2 separate regions of the Homo sapiens genome follow, and region 2 is linked to region 1. The links are contacts of gene promoters, found by promoter capture Hi-C in blood cells and fetal thymus (Javierre and others, 2016). All regions are on one chromosome and are shown on one strand. The core of a region is centred on a gene start or on the middle of the fragment in contact, and the rest is flanking DNA. Distances in the headings are between cores, read along the strand shown. Region 1 holds the start of TRUB1 (TruB pseudouridine synthase family member 1). Region 2 overlaps ABLIM1 (actin binding LIM protein 1).

Region 1 (6,108 bases), core at 1,322-3,821:
GTCCACTCCTGTGATCCAATCACCTACCACCAGGCCCAACCTCCAACACTGGGAGCTAAACCATTCATGAGGGGTCCACTCCTGTGATCCAATCACCTACCACCAGGCCCAACCTCCAACACTGGGAGCTAAACCATTCATGAGGGGTCCACTCCTGTGATCCAATCACCTACCACCAGGCCCAACCTCCAACACTGGGAATCACGTTTCAACATGAGATTTGGAGGGAACCAACATCCGAATCATTTTCATGGTATGTCAGGTGAGATGTGCCATGGAAAAAAATAAAGCCAGAAAGTTAGCTAGGAAAGTGCCATGGTAGAGGGATAGAAAGAGGGAGGTATTATGTTCTGTAGGTGGTCAGGAGTGACTTCATCCAGAAGATTTTTGGAATTGGATCAAAATAGGATGGTTTAAAACAAGGATGTGGAATGAAGAGTTAGAATAAAAGGCCTGTTAGAAACAGGAAAGAGGAATAAAGACACAAGTGGGCCAGGCGTGATGGCTCGTGCCTGTAATCCCAGCACTTTGGGAGGCCGAGGCAGGCGGATCACCTGAGGTTGGGAGTTCATGACCAGCCTGACCAACATGGAGAAACCCCGTCCCTACTAAAAATACAAAATTAGCTGGGCATGGTGCCACATGCCTGTAATCCCACCTACTCAGGAGTCTGAGGCAGGAGAATCATTTGAACCCGGGAGGCGGAGGTTGCAGTGAGCTGAGATTGTGCCACTGCACTCCAGCCTGGGCAACAAGAGTGAAACTCTGTCTCAAAAAAAAAAAAAAAAAAAAAAAAGACACAAGTGAGTAGCATAAAAGAAGGATGTGCAGCTAGAGACAGAGAACTTTCTAGGTTCTGAATAGTGTGTCAGTGTATTTCTGATAAATCTTCTCCCCCTGTGCCCCCAAGCTGGTATGAATCAGTTTTCTGTTGACCAAAGAGCCCAAACTCATACATGTATTGGAGCAAAAAAAACCTGTGAATTCAAGGCCTGCCCAATGTGGGAGATGTTGATTACCTTAGAAAAACAAAGCTTGGTGCTTCTGATCCCAAGAATGCCGATATAATAGCAGAGTAGCATTAATTTTGTTGTGTCCTAGCATCCCAGAAATCAAACATGCAAGAAATATACATTTCTTCATTTTCTTTAAATCAGATTAACTCTGGTCCTACACTGGGCTGATGGAAAATTCAAATATAAGCATCATATGTTACCCCTAGTTCTGTTCTCCCTCTGCATCCCTCACCCCCAGAGCCACAAGAGAAATAGGGAGGCTTGCTGATGTCCGGACAATTGGGAAAAGGCCTCTAATCTCCAAGTGCCTTGGAGTCATCCAAGTCATCATTGATCAAGCCTTGCAACCTTCCCTGCAAGTCCCTGGCTCTCTGCTTCCATGGCACAAGAATAGAGAACTCTTTCCTGAGGCTAATGGACACCATGCTCCTTTGGGTGCAGTCATCCCTTCTGAAGTCACAACATCTTTGTGGAAAAATTAACATCTTGAAGCAGGGCCAGGTGTCCACTAATCCTGTGATATGCCAATCTTTTCAGTTAGCTTAGGCTTTTATAATAGACCACAAGAGTAAGTGACTTCCTTCTAGGAGTTTCAGCTTTCCACCCTGAAAAAACTCCCTCAAAGATTTTTTTTTCCTTTTAATAAATTGTTCTGCCATGTGTCTGTTGCACGAATGGGTGCAAGTTCAAATGGGACCCCATAACTGGTGATTGTGAGCAGCTAAGGGGCATCACTAAAATACTAGATATTAAAGTCCAAGAGTATGATGAGGACAAAGAGTGGTTGTAAAGAAACCTAAAAAACAATGAGGGCAAACTTTATCTGTCTCACAATAGTTATGATAGCATTTAATGTTTCTGGTGCAGAAGTAATTTTTCTCCACTCTGCCTTGTGCTGGAATCAAAACAATATTCCTCAATCTTGTTAGGGAGTGAATAACTTTTAGGGAGAAGGTCTCAAATGGGAAGTGGTTTAAAGTTTATGAATTGCAAGAATACCTTTTGATATCTAAACAAAGTGTACTAAGGAATTCAACCCACAGAAGAGCTGATATTCAAAATCAGAATTATTAAAAATTGTAGTGGGGTCAGTGGGGGTTTGGGGAGGGTGAACAGGAGTGCATGAAGAGCATCAAAATAAGCACAAGTGATTTACCATTGGCTTGGTTTCTTCGGGGAATTTGAAGAATTCATACTTATTTATACGTTTTCAAATATTTATTTAAGTGCCTACAACATGTGAGGCATTTGGGAATGTCTCAGTTAACGTGGTACATAAGTTCCTTGCTCTAATAGAGCTCACATTTGGATGTCTTCTAATTCTGAACCTGAATGTAAGAGCACAATACAATCAATGAAGCAGTGAGCCCAGGAAGCCATGGATCTTCACAAGCCTCAGGAAAAGTCAACATTTAAAATTTTCTATTTAAAGTCCAAGGGCACAGCAAGCTCTTGGTCTATATGGGAAGGCCATGGACTACAATTCCCACAAGTCCGTGCGACCTCTCCGTTCTGCGCAGCTTCGCGGTATGAGGAAGAGGGTCCTGTCAGGCGCACTCTTGTTGCATCATCAGCGTGCACCTCCACGATGAAACAGGTCTGGGCTACAAAAGTATGGCCGCTTCTGAGGCGGCGGTGGTGTCTTCGCCGTCTTTGAAAACAGACACATCCCCTGTCCTTGAAACTGCAGGAACGGTCGCAGCAATGGCTGCGACCCCGTCAGCAAGGGCTGCAGCCGCGGTGGTTGCGGCCGCGGCCAGGACCGGATCCGAAGCCAGGGTCTCCAAGGCCGCTTTGGCTACCAAGCTGCTGTCCTTGAGCGGCGTGTTCGCCGTGCACAAGCCCAAAGGGCCCACTTCAGCCGAGCTGCTGAATCGGTTGAAGGAGAAGCTGCTGGCAGGTACTGCAGCCCGGGTGGGGACCAGGCTGAGGCGGTCGCTGCGAGAGGGGAAGCACATTAGGCTTTTTGCGACGCTCGTGATTCAAGAGACAAAAGGAGGGGAAAGGGAGACTGACCATTGAATTAGCTCTGGACAGGAATCTCGGGCATCTCGGGCTTGGACTTGCCCTGGCACGAACTCTTGTAGCCTACTTGGCAGTTGTAGTTCTCAACGGGAGGAAAAAAATCCCGTACTTACACAATAAAACCCTGCCCTTGGGCGTGCAGACCTGTTTTCTGTAATCTGATCGATCCCTCAGGAGGCTTTTGTTGGGTTCATGTGGATGAACCCCAAAAGGAAGTACTGGTTCTGCACCCCTAAAGTTGCATTCCTCAAAATGTATTGGAAATGCAGATATACTTCGTTAACCAAGACTTAATATAGTCGTTTTCACATTTTAATGGGCCTAACAATTACTTAGAGTCTCTTGTACAAATACAGATTCCTAATCCCTGCCCTGTCCGAGATTGTGATTCGGAGAGTTCGGGGTATTTTTAGGAAACTGCAATTCTAAATAGTTGCTCCAGGTGATTCCAGTGTAAGTAGTTTATGGACCACATTTGAGGAACACTAAATATAACTTGGCCACTAAGCTGAGAGTGTTCATTTTATTGATTCGTTTATTCACGTACACTGGGAAAATAGTAGAAAAGCCTAGAGAATCACCCCGTTAATCAGCTCGGATGATTTCACACATAAAGCATCCAGGATCCTTAAGTTCATTGGACATATACAATAAGCCAGGTCTGTGCTAGCCTATAGAGACTTGAAGATGAAAGATAACTCTCTTACCTTAACTGAGCTGATAGCCTAGTAATTTCTGCACCTTGTGGTGGTAAAACTAGTTAGTTAGGTTATTCAAGGCCCTCCAGAGTTTGGCCGTATTCTGTCTCGCCATTAAACCAGTAACAGGGACTTTCTTACATTGTTTAGTGTCCCATGGAAAACTTTACACTTTAAAAAAATGCAAAAACAAATTATTCTGATGGGAATTATAACTGACAGTACAGATTTAAGTGTTTATGGGCAAATAGGTACACTCCTGCAGATGTTTAATTCCAGTATCACGACTACTTATTCTTTTATTAAAGTTTTGCTTTGTTGCCTGAAAGTATGGGTCATACAGAGGACGTCAAAGTGAGGAATTGCATCAAGGATATGTATTGTGGTATCATCATAGTTTTTTAGTTTTCCTTCATAGAACTGCTGCTTTCCTGATTTGTTAGCTAAACTCTGGGTTTCTTTTCTTTTTTTTTTTTTTTTATCCTTAAGGTAATGATTACCATTCTTTCAGACAAGTTTCTGACAAAGCCATATTCTGGCCTTCTGGCTAATCTGCCTCTAAGAACTGAAGTTTCTTGTTGAATCTTGGTTAAAATGTTTCAAGGCTCTTGCTAGGCTAGAACCTTTAGCTAGAGACATTCTCATTATCCTCGATTTCTATATTGCTTGTGATTGGCCTATTTTGTATTTATGTTAGTTAGGCTAGGGCTTTCCAAATGTCATTGTAATTGGCTGTCAGAATTGCTTGGGAAGTTTTTGTTTTTGTTTTTGTTTTTGAGATGGAGTTTCGCTGTTGTTGCCCAGGCTGGAGTGCAATGGCAAGATCTCGGCTCACTGCAACCTTCCCCTCCTGGGTTCAAGTGATTCTCCTGCCTCAGCCTCCCAAGTAGCTGGGATTACAGGCATGCACCACCATGCCCAGCTAATTTTGTATTTTTGGTAGAGACGGGGTTTCTCCATGTTGGTCAGGCTGGGCTCGAACTCCCGACCTCAGGTGATCTGCCCGCCTCAGCCTCCCAAAATGCTGGGATTACAGGCATGAGCCACCACTCCCGGCCTTGGGAAGGTTCTTAAAGATACCTACATTCTAATGCCATGTTTGACAACCATGATCAGTGGTTGTGTCCTCTAATACCATTCCTTGTCTTTCTTTGCATTGATTCCTATTATGCTACAATCTCTACTGTTTGTCTGTTGGGATCCTTCAAAGCCCTAAGTGTACCAGAATTTTATAGCTAGAAAATAATAAAAATCCACGAATACTTAGTTCAGTGGGGTGAACCAAATTCCCCACTTTATATAGTAGAGGCAGTACGTCTGCAAGTTAGAAGGAGGTATATTTGGGCACAAAGGGAAGATAGTATATTTATGGGGCCTTCTTACTCCAAGGGGTGTCAAGTTGAAAATGTAAAGAGTTCCCCAAAAGGTTTCTGTTAATTTATGAGTGAGAGATCCATGATGGATTGCAAGTGACAGATCAAGGGTTTGAAACTGAGGTCTGGCCTTAGAAGTTTATGTCAAAGCAGACAACCATACCCTTCTAAGTATGGTGATGTCATAATTAGGGAATGACGCCAGGGTGTTCCAGAGACCATGGTTCTGACTCAGTAGAGTGGTAATTTTGTTGGGAGGCCGAGCCACCCAGCATATCCTTTTGGCCATTTAATCTGGCTTCTGCATTTCCACTGTTGCTTTGTTTTCCCTCCTCCCTTCTCTGTCCACTCGTTTCGTTTTCTTTGCTTTATTTTCTTTCTGCTCAGTGTCAGTGTTGATAAGGAAGGTTTGATGGGCTTGGGGGCAGGTATAGATCAATGTAGCAGTTCCTGCTTTTCTCTTCTTTCTCACTTGAAGTCTAATAGCCAATACTCTCTCAGTATGTTATATGCCATCATCAAAAACAATTTATATTTATCCAGAAGGAAGCACTGGCTCTGTCTCCCCAAAGTACTTTCAAGTAACATTATTTTGCATTATCTTTTTTTTTTTTTTAAACAGGACAGGATCTCACTCTGTTGCCCAGGCTGGAATACAGTGGCACAGTCTTGGCTTACTGCAACCTCTGCCTCCTGAGCTCAAGCAGTCCTCTCACCTAAGCCTCCCCAGTAGCAAGGACTATAGGTGCACACCACCATGCCCACCTAATTTTTGTATTTTATTTTGGGTAGAGACAGGGTTTCCCTGTGTTGCCTAGGGTGGTCTCAAACTTCCAGGTTCAAGTGATCCACCCATCTCGGCCTCCCAAAGTGCTGGGATTACAGGCATGAGCCACTGTGCCCGGCTCACTTTATGTTTACAACAGGAATATGAGATAAGCCGGGCTGGCATCCTCTTTTTAAAAATCTAAATGCTTAGGAAGTTAAGGTGCAACT
Region 2 (6,108 bases), core at 3,609-6,108, 410 kb before region 1:
AGATGTCACTGGATTATGAACTGATAGGCTCATGTTTATGTTTATAAATAGTATAAATAATATGTATAAGCTCAAATAATAGGGATGAGAAGGGAGGAGGTGAGGTCTTAGGTTTCATTCATTTGGCAAAAGCCTGTGATGAACCTGTGGGTCAGGCACTGGACACCTGATGAGGAGGAAAGAAAGGCTGTATAATCTGCGCTACCAAGAAGAAATCTGTATTCAATTCCTGGCCCTGCAGTAATCATCTGTACGCCTTTCGGCAACTGCTCTGGGCCTCAGTTTACTTACTTGCAAAACAAAGATGAGAGTCATACTCAAGCCATAGAGTTGATGAAAGGACTTTGATGAAGTATGCTTATAAAGTGCTAAGGCAATAAGAACAAACAATAATTACAACCATAACCACCTTTATTACACATTCCTGTCCTCAAGAGCTTAGTATGCAGAGCTTAGCAAACAGGTGACTGTAACTGGATAAGATGGTTAGTGTAATGTACAAAGTGAGGTGGGTGTGGGGAGAAAATTCTCCAAGGCTACTGTCTTGGGGAGTCAAAGAGGAATCACAGGAGAGAAGCTCTTAGACTTAAAAGAGAGTAGAAATTTACTCGGTAGTCAACCCCCCTCCTTTCCCCGCTCCTTCTTTCCTTCCTTCCCTCTCCTTTTCCCTCCCATTCATCCATCCTTCTATCCATCCACTCATCCTCTTATTGGGCACCAACCTTCTATCAGATGATGTTTTAGTTTCGGGGATATGATAGTACCTGTCATAAGCATACATTCTTGCAATGAGTGACAGATACTAGACATGGATACAAGCAGATAAGAATTCCAGATAGTCGGGGAACAGTGCCATGAAGAACCTAAAACAGAACCAGGGGAGAGAAGATGGCCTAGGGGTTGGGCAGGTGGAAGCAACTTTAGCTAGGTGATTAGAGGATACCTCTCCAAGTCAAAAGAGGCAGGTTGAATAATGAGAAGGAAGCCAAGATCTGGAGGAAGAATGTGCCAGGCTCAGGGAGCAGTGAAAGCCCAGAGATGGACAGTGTCTGTGCTTGAGGGGCAGAAAGAAGGCTAGCAGGGCTGGAATGAAAGAGGAGGGAAGATGTAGGTAATCAGAAACTTAATCTCAGAGGGCTGCATAAGCCAGGAGAAGATATTTCAACAGATTTTCAAAATTCCAAGGTTTAAAGGCAAAACAAAAACCCAGTCGAACACATGTTTTCCTCATGCTTTAGAACTCTTTTCAAACCACAAAGGAAACCTGGCAATCCACCCCACCCCCCACTTATTCCCTAAACTTCGTTATATAAGGGCCAACATCTTCTTTCATCTGTTGCCAGACCAGATACATTTGGCATCCTAAACAAGTTGCCAAAACAAAGCAGAAAGCTCAGCTTAAACTCTGTTAGAGGATGTTCTAAACTTCACAAAACACAATTCTCTATGTTTTCAAGTATGTTTATTTGGACAAGGTATACGGATATGAGCACAGACATAAGGAACCAGCTGCACAGAACCAAGACAATCTAGTAAAAAATTACTATTCAGCAGTAAGGAAAGATAAAAGCAGTCTTAAGTGTAAACAAGTATTTTTGCTTCATCTAGTGTTTATGAGCAACAAATGGCCTCAGTGTGAACCAGCAATGCTGAGAAGGACACAAACACGTATTTGCTAAAAACATTCCAGGCTTGGCGAATAATAAAGCAGCAGGGTTTGTTTCCTCTTTGATGAAGGTCCCCTCCCGTCAAAGGCTGCACCTTAAGCCTCTGCAGCTTAAGGTACAAGAAAGGCTCACGCTTGCTCATTCCCAGGGCTCTGCTTAGAAGCATGTAGCTAGGCCAGGTGCGGTGGCTCACGCCTGTAATCCCAGCACTTTGGGAGGCTGAAGCGGGTGGATCACTTGAGGTCAGGAGTTGAAGACCAGCCTAGCCAACATGGTGAAACCCCATCTCTACTAAAAACACAAAAAATTAGCCGGGCATGGTGGCACACACCTGTAATCCCAGTTACTCGGAGGGTGAGGCAGGAGAATCGCTTGAACCCAGGAGGTGGAGGTTGCAGTGAGCCAAGATTGCACCACTGCACTCCAGCCTGGGTGACAGAGCAAGACTCCATCTCAAAAAACAAAACAAAACAAAAAAATCCATGGAGCTGGGGTTGGTTTGTGAACCAAAGCAAGAGATTGAGAGGATCTTTGGCTTCTCTGTCTCTCACTACGGCATCTTTACATTCTGCACAGTCTGGAAACTTCCAATTTCAAGACATCTGCCCCATCTGCACCCCCCTTGCCCTGATAACCTGGTTCAGAGAACCAGGTAGGTTCTCTGGGCAGCACCACCTGACTCCCCACAGGACACATAGATCAACAAGGGCCGTTTTTTCACCTCTGATCATAAGCTCTTTCAACTGGCGAGTTTTCTTAAAGAGGTGGTAAATACCTTGCCTTTGGGTCAGACCCTATGGTTAGTGTGCTCTTTATCTTATTGAAACCATGAAGAAGCATTAACCTGTGGGGTTTATAATAAGAGCAGAAATTTAATTTCTGGGCCTTATGAAGGCCCAAATTCTACAACCCACAGACCCACTCTTCCTGCATCCTTCAAAGAGTTTTCTGGTAGCCCCTCAGACATTAAAACCTGCTTAGATGGTGACTGGATTTGTCCTCTTTAAAAAATTACAGAAATATGGACACAGGCTGCAGACATGTGGCTTGCTGACCAAGCTCCTGGGTGGTCTTTCCATAGAAATCATTGACATTCATTTGTCTGTTCATCAATGACTGAGCAAATAGTATGAGCAGGCACTGTGCTATATCCTGGGGGCAAATAGACCTAAAATGCTCACATTTGCTGCACTCAGGGATCTTTGGTCTACTGAATGGGGGGAGAGGGTGAATTTTAATTACGAAGAACTGTTACTTAGAGAGCACATGGTGTGTGTCACATTGGTACCTCCAGGTGGAGAGAAATGCAAGATTTGCTTTGCAATCAAAAGCAGAAACCACAGCTCTCTGATAACATTATGGGCCAGTCCAGGTCTGTCACCAAGAATAGACTTCAATAAGTCAAGGTGTTTCCCTATCTGTTCAGCCAATGCTAAGCACCACTAAGCACTATGCAGTGGTACATCTCATCTGGTTTGGGTGGTGGTGGTAGCTCCTGGAAGTCACGGTGCTCAGTGCAATGTACTATATTCTTGGAGAAACACCAAGAAAAAGCAGCACTCGCAGCTTCATGCATTTTGTAATCTGTAAACCTTTGAGAGCAAACAAGCAGTAGCATTAATGCTAAAGGTGTAAGAAAAATTTTAAACGGAAAAAATCCCAGCCATTGACTTCATCGTTATCTGTAAATTGGAAAAAAGCTGTGATTCTTCAATTGCACTCACAAAACAAGGCCCAATTCCTAAAAAAATCAAAACAGTTTGAGACCCACTGGTACAGATGGCGAAAAGAAAAAAGAAATGAAAGCATTCACTTGCAGATTCTAGAAGAAAAAAAAACTAACAGGCATGGCCAGATTTACTAAAAACCCACATTACAAACAAACAAACAACAACAACAACAAAAAACTCTATATTTACAGAAGGGAAAAGTATGGGTAACTATTTGCTTTATAAAATGGATCACTGTATAAGCTTCTTTTTAAAAAAAGACAAAATAGTATATCCCCAGAATGCACTTTAGAATTCAATTGAAAGAAGTTTGACTACTATACCAATCATAGCACTGTATAAAATAAGTCCCACAAGGGCACAGAAGGAAAAGGGGGCAGAAGAATGTATATCCGCAGCAAGTCCTTGAATCTGATACCCCATTCCCAAGATGTGATTTCAGACAAAACCCAAACAAAATAAAAACCAAATGGTCAGGCAAAAACACCTGTCCTGCCACTGTTCCTTGGACCCCGCCAGGCCTCCCTGGGACTCCAGCCTCCTCTCATAGACCCTTCCCCCTCGTTGGCAGCAGTAGGCCCCAAGACAGGTTTCCCTCTAGCAGTGATTCCCAACCAGGGGCATTTTGCCCACAGGGAATATTTAACAGTGTCTGAAGATATCTCTGGTTCTCACAGCTGGGGAGGGAGTGCTACTGTCGCCTGGTGTGTAGAGATCAAGGATGCTACTAGACATCCCATAGACAGTCCCCTGCAACAAACTATAATCCCATCCAAAATGTCAATAATGCTGAGGTTGAGAAACCCTGTTCTACAGGAGCCAAAATCATGACCATCCCTCCAGAAAGTCAGGTTACAAGAACTGAGTAGTTCACTTTCTGTCCTTTTAGGTGAGCTATTGTTTAGTTGAAGAGAAAAATCTGCAGGCTTCTGTTGTCAGGATATAATATTCCCTGAGCTTACTGGATAAGCCACTGATGCGAGGATTAGACTCACTGACACATGAAAATGCTTAGGCAACCGCCTCGAAAACATTGGTCAAAACATTCTAAGTGTTATAAGGGATGCTTGGCAAGGCCTCACGCTTAGTCTTAAAAAGCCTTCTCAAAAGTAATTTATACCAATGAGCCGTGGCAAATTCACCTATTCTATAAGTACGCAGTGACTCAACAAGCCTTTTGATCCATTTATAGAATGGCAACAATTATATTTTAATGAGTTATTTTCACTTACTTGTCAGAACCTGTTTTGGTAATCTAAATAACTTCACATCCTCTTAACATTCCTTATGAGGCTGTCTGAGAGAAAAACAGGCTCAGTTTTCTTTTAAGTCTCCAATCTCAGCTAAGTGACAAATGAAGCTGCTATAGCGACCACACTCCTGCTGGCTTATGGCCAAACTCACGTTTTCTTTTTTTCTTTTCCAACATCATAAATCTATTTTTTTCACAGATGAAATAACTTTCTGGTCCCATTTCTTCTTTCATGCTAGTATAGCACATTTTAAAACACTTTCCCCCCAAAAAAAGTCTTTACAGTATGATTCGATTAATAACTGGGTTTTTAGGAAAACTATTTTCAATATAAAGGCCAGAATCTCTAGATTTCTTTTACTGCATATCAAAGGTGGAAAGAGAGGCAATTGTCAAGCTCTTTCAACCTAGAGCCGCAATAAAACATGAATAACATCTAAACATTTTGTTTCCTTATTTTCATTTATTGGGTATTTCTTAAAGAAAAAAAAATCTCATAATTTACAGTAATAGCTAAATCTACTCATTCCCACGTGCCACTTCCACCACCAAATCCCCCAAACAGGACTCAAATGTAAATTTCACAGAGCTCTACAAACCACAGACAAAACAAAACAACCCCAAAGTCTGAAAACCACAGTCTCCTTTCAATCTTGCGGGTAGCAGCCTAAAAAAACATAAGCCTTGTTTAAAAGGTCAACGCACTACACTTCTCAGTGAAATAAATAACCAGCCTTTCCTGCCCTTCAGTCTAGTTCTGTATCGATGAACAAAAGCTCCTGTCGTTTCTTTTGTATCATCAGGAAAACAAAAAGTTTACATAAATGTATGTCAGGGCAATAAAAGTGACTTCTGTCGCCAGCATCCAGCCACCACATTTGGAGGATCCGAGCGGCCTCCGACCTCACGAAGGAAGCCAGAAATCTCACATCTGCCACGCAAAGCAAAGGACATAGGTCACCTTGTGCAATGTCCGCTTTACCTCAGGCCAGGGTTCCTTTTCTTCTAATTCTGTTCCTTGGCTGTGCTGAGCAGAGAACTCCTCCAGGCTTCAAGTTCAGAACACGGCCAAGAGGCTTTGTAGATGCCAGACCTCAGCCCGACAGACTGAGGCTCCCACCTGCCTGGGTTACATATCAGGCTTCTCTCCGAAGCTCGGCTAAGGCAACGTGCATCCCTCTAGAGACGCACTCCGGAAACCAGCCCCGTGTGCGGCGGGCAGGCACGCTCTCTCACGCCTCCTCTCCTCGCTTTACTTACTAGTTCAACACACCAGCAACCACAATGGGCCAGTCCATGTTCCCAAAAAAGGAGGGGGAGTAGATTTACTTTCTTTCTTTTTTTAAATGCAGGTAGGAAAGTACCATTTCTTTGCATTCACTCACTATTGTCTGCATGTGAAACCGACAGTGATTGTCCCTGAGGCATAAGCTTGTACTGAAACGAGATTCTTAGGCTT

Evidence for each region. The method cuts DNA at HindIII sites, captures the fragments that hold promoters and counts their contacts. A CHiCAGO score of 5 or more calls a contact.
Region 2: a contact is called between a fragment that was not itself captured here and the fragment with the promoter of TRUB1 in region 1, in 4 of 17 cell types (naive CD8 T cells, total B cells, total CD8 T cells and 1 more). The highest score is 6.7, in naive CD8 T cells.

The regions. Positions count from the first base shown.
Region 1 is chr10:114,935,624-114,941,731 of GRCh38, forward strand. It overlaps TRUB1 (TruB pseudouridine synthase family member 1), which reads left to right and starts at 2,572. Exons shown (of 8, transcript NM_139169.5): 1 at 2,572-2,916. The coding sequence starts at 2,631. RefSeq lists an enhancer at 2,404-2,943. The HindIII fragment of the contact is 6,581 bases long and covers 1,033-6,108 here.
Region 2 is chr10:114,521,029-114,527,136 of GRCh38, forward strand. The region is part of intron 6 of ABLIM1 (actin binding LIM protein 1); the gene reads right to left. Among named protein-coding and RNA genes, the nearest start is that of AFAP1L2, 120 kb to the left of the region's middle. RefSeq lists enhancers at 5,601-5,720, 5,891-6,108. The HindIII fragment of the contact is 2,440 bases long and covers 3,639-6,078 here.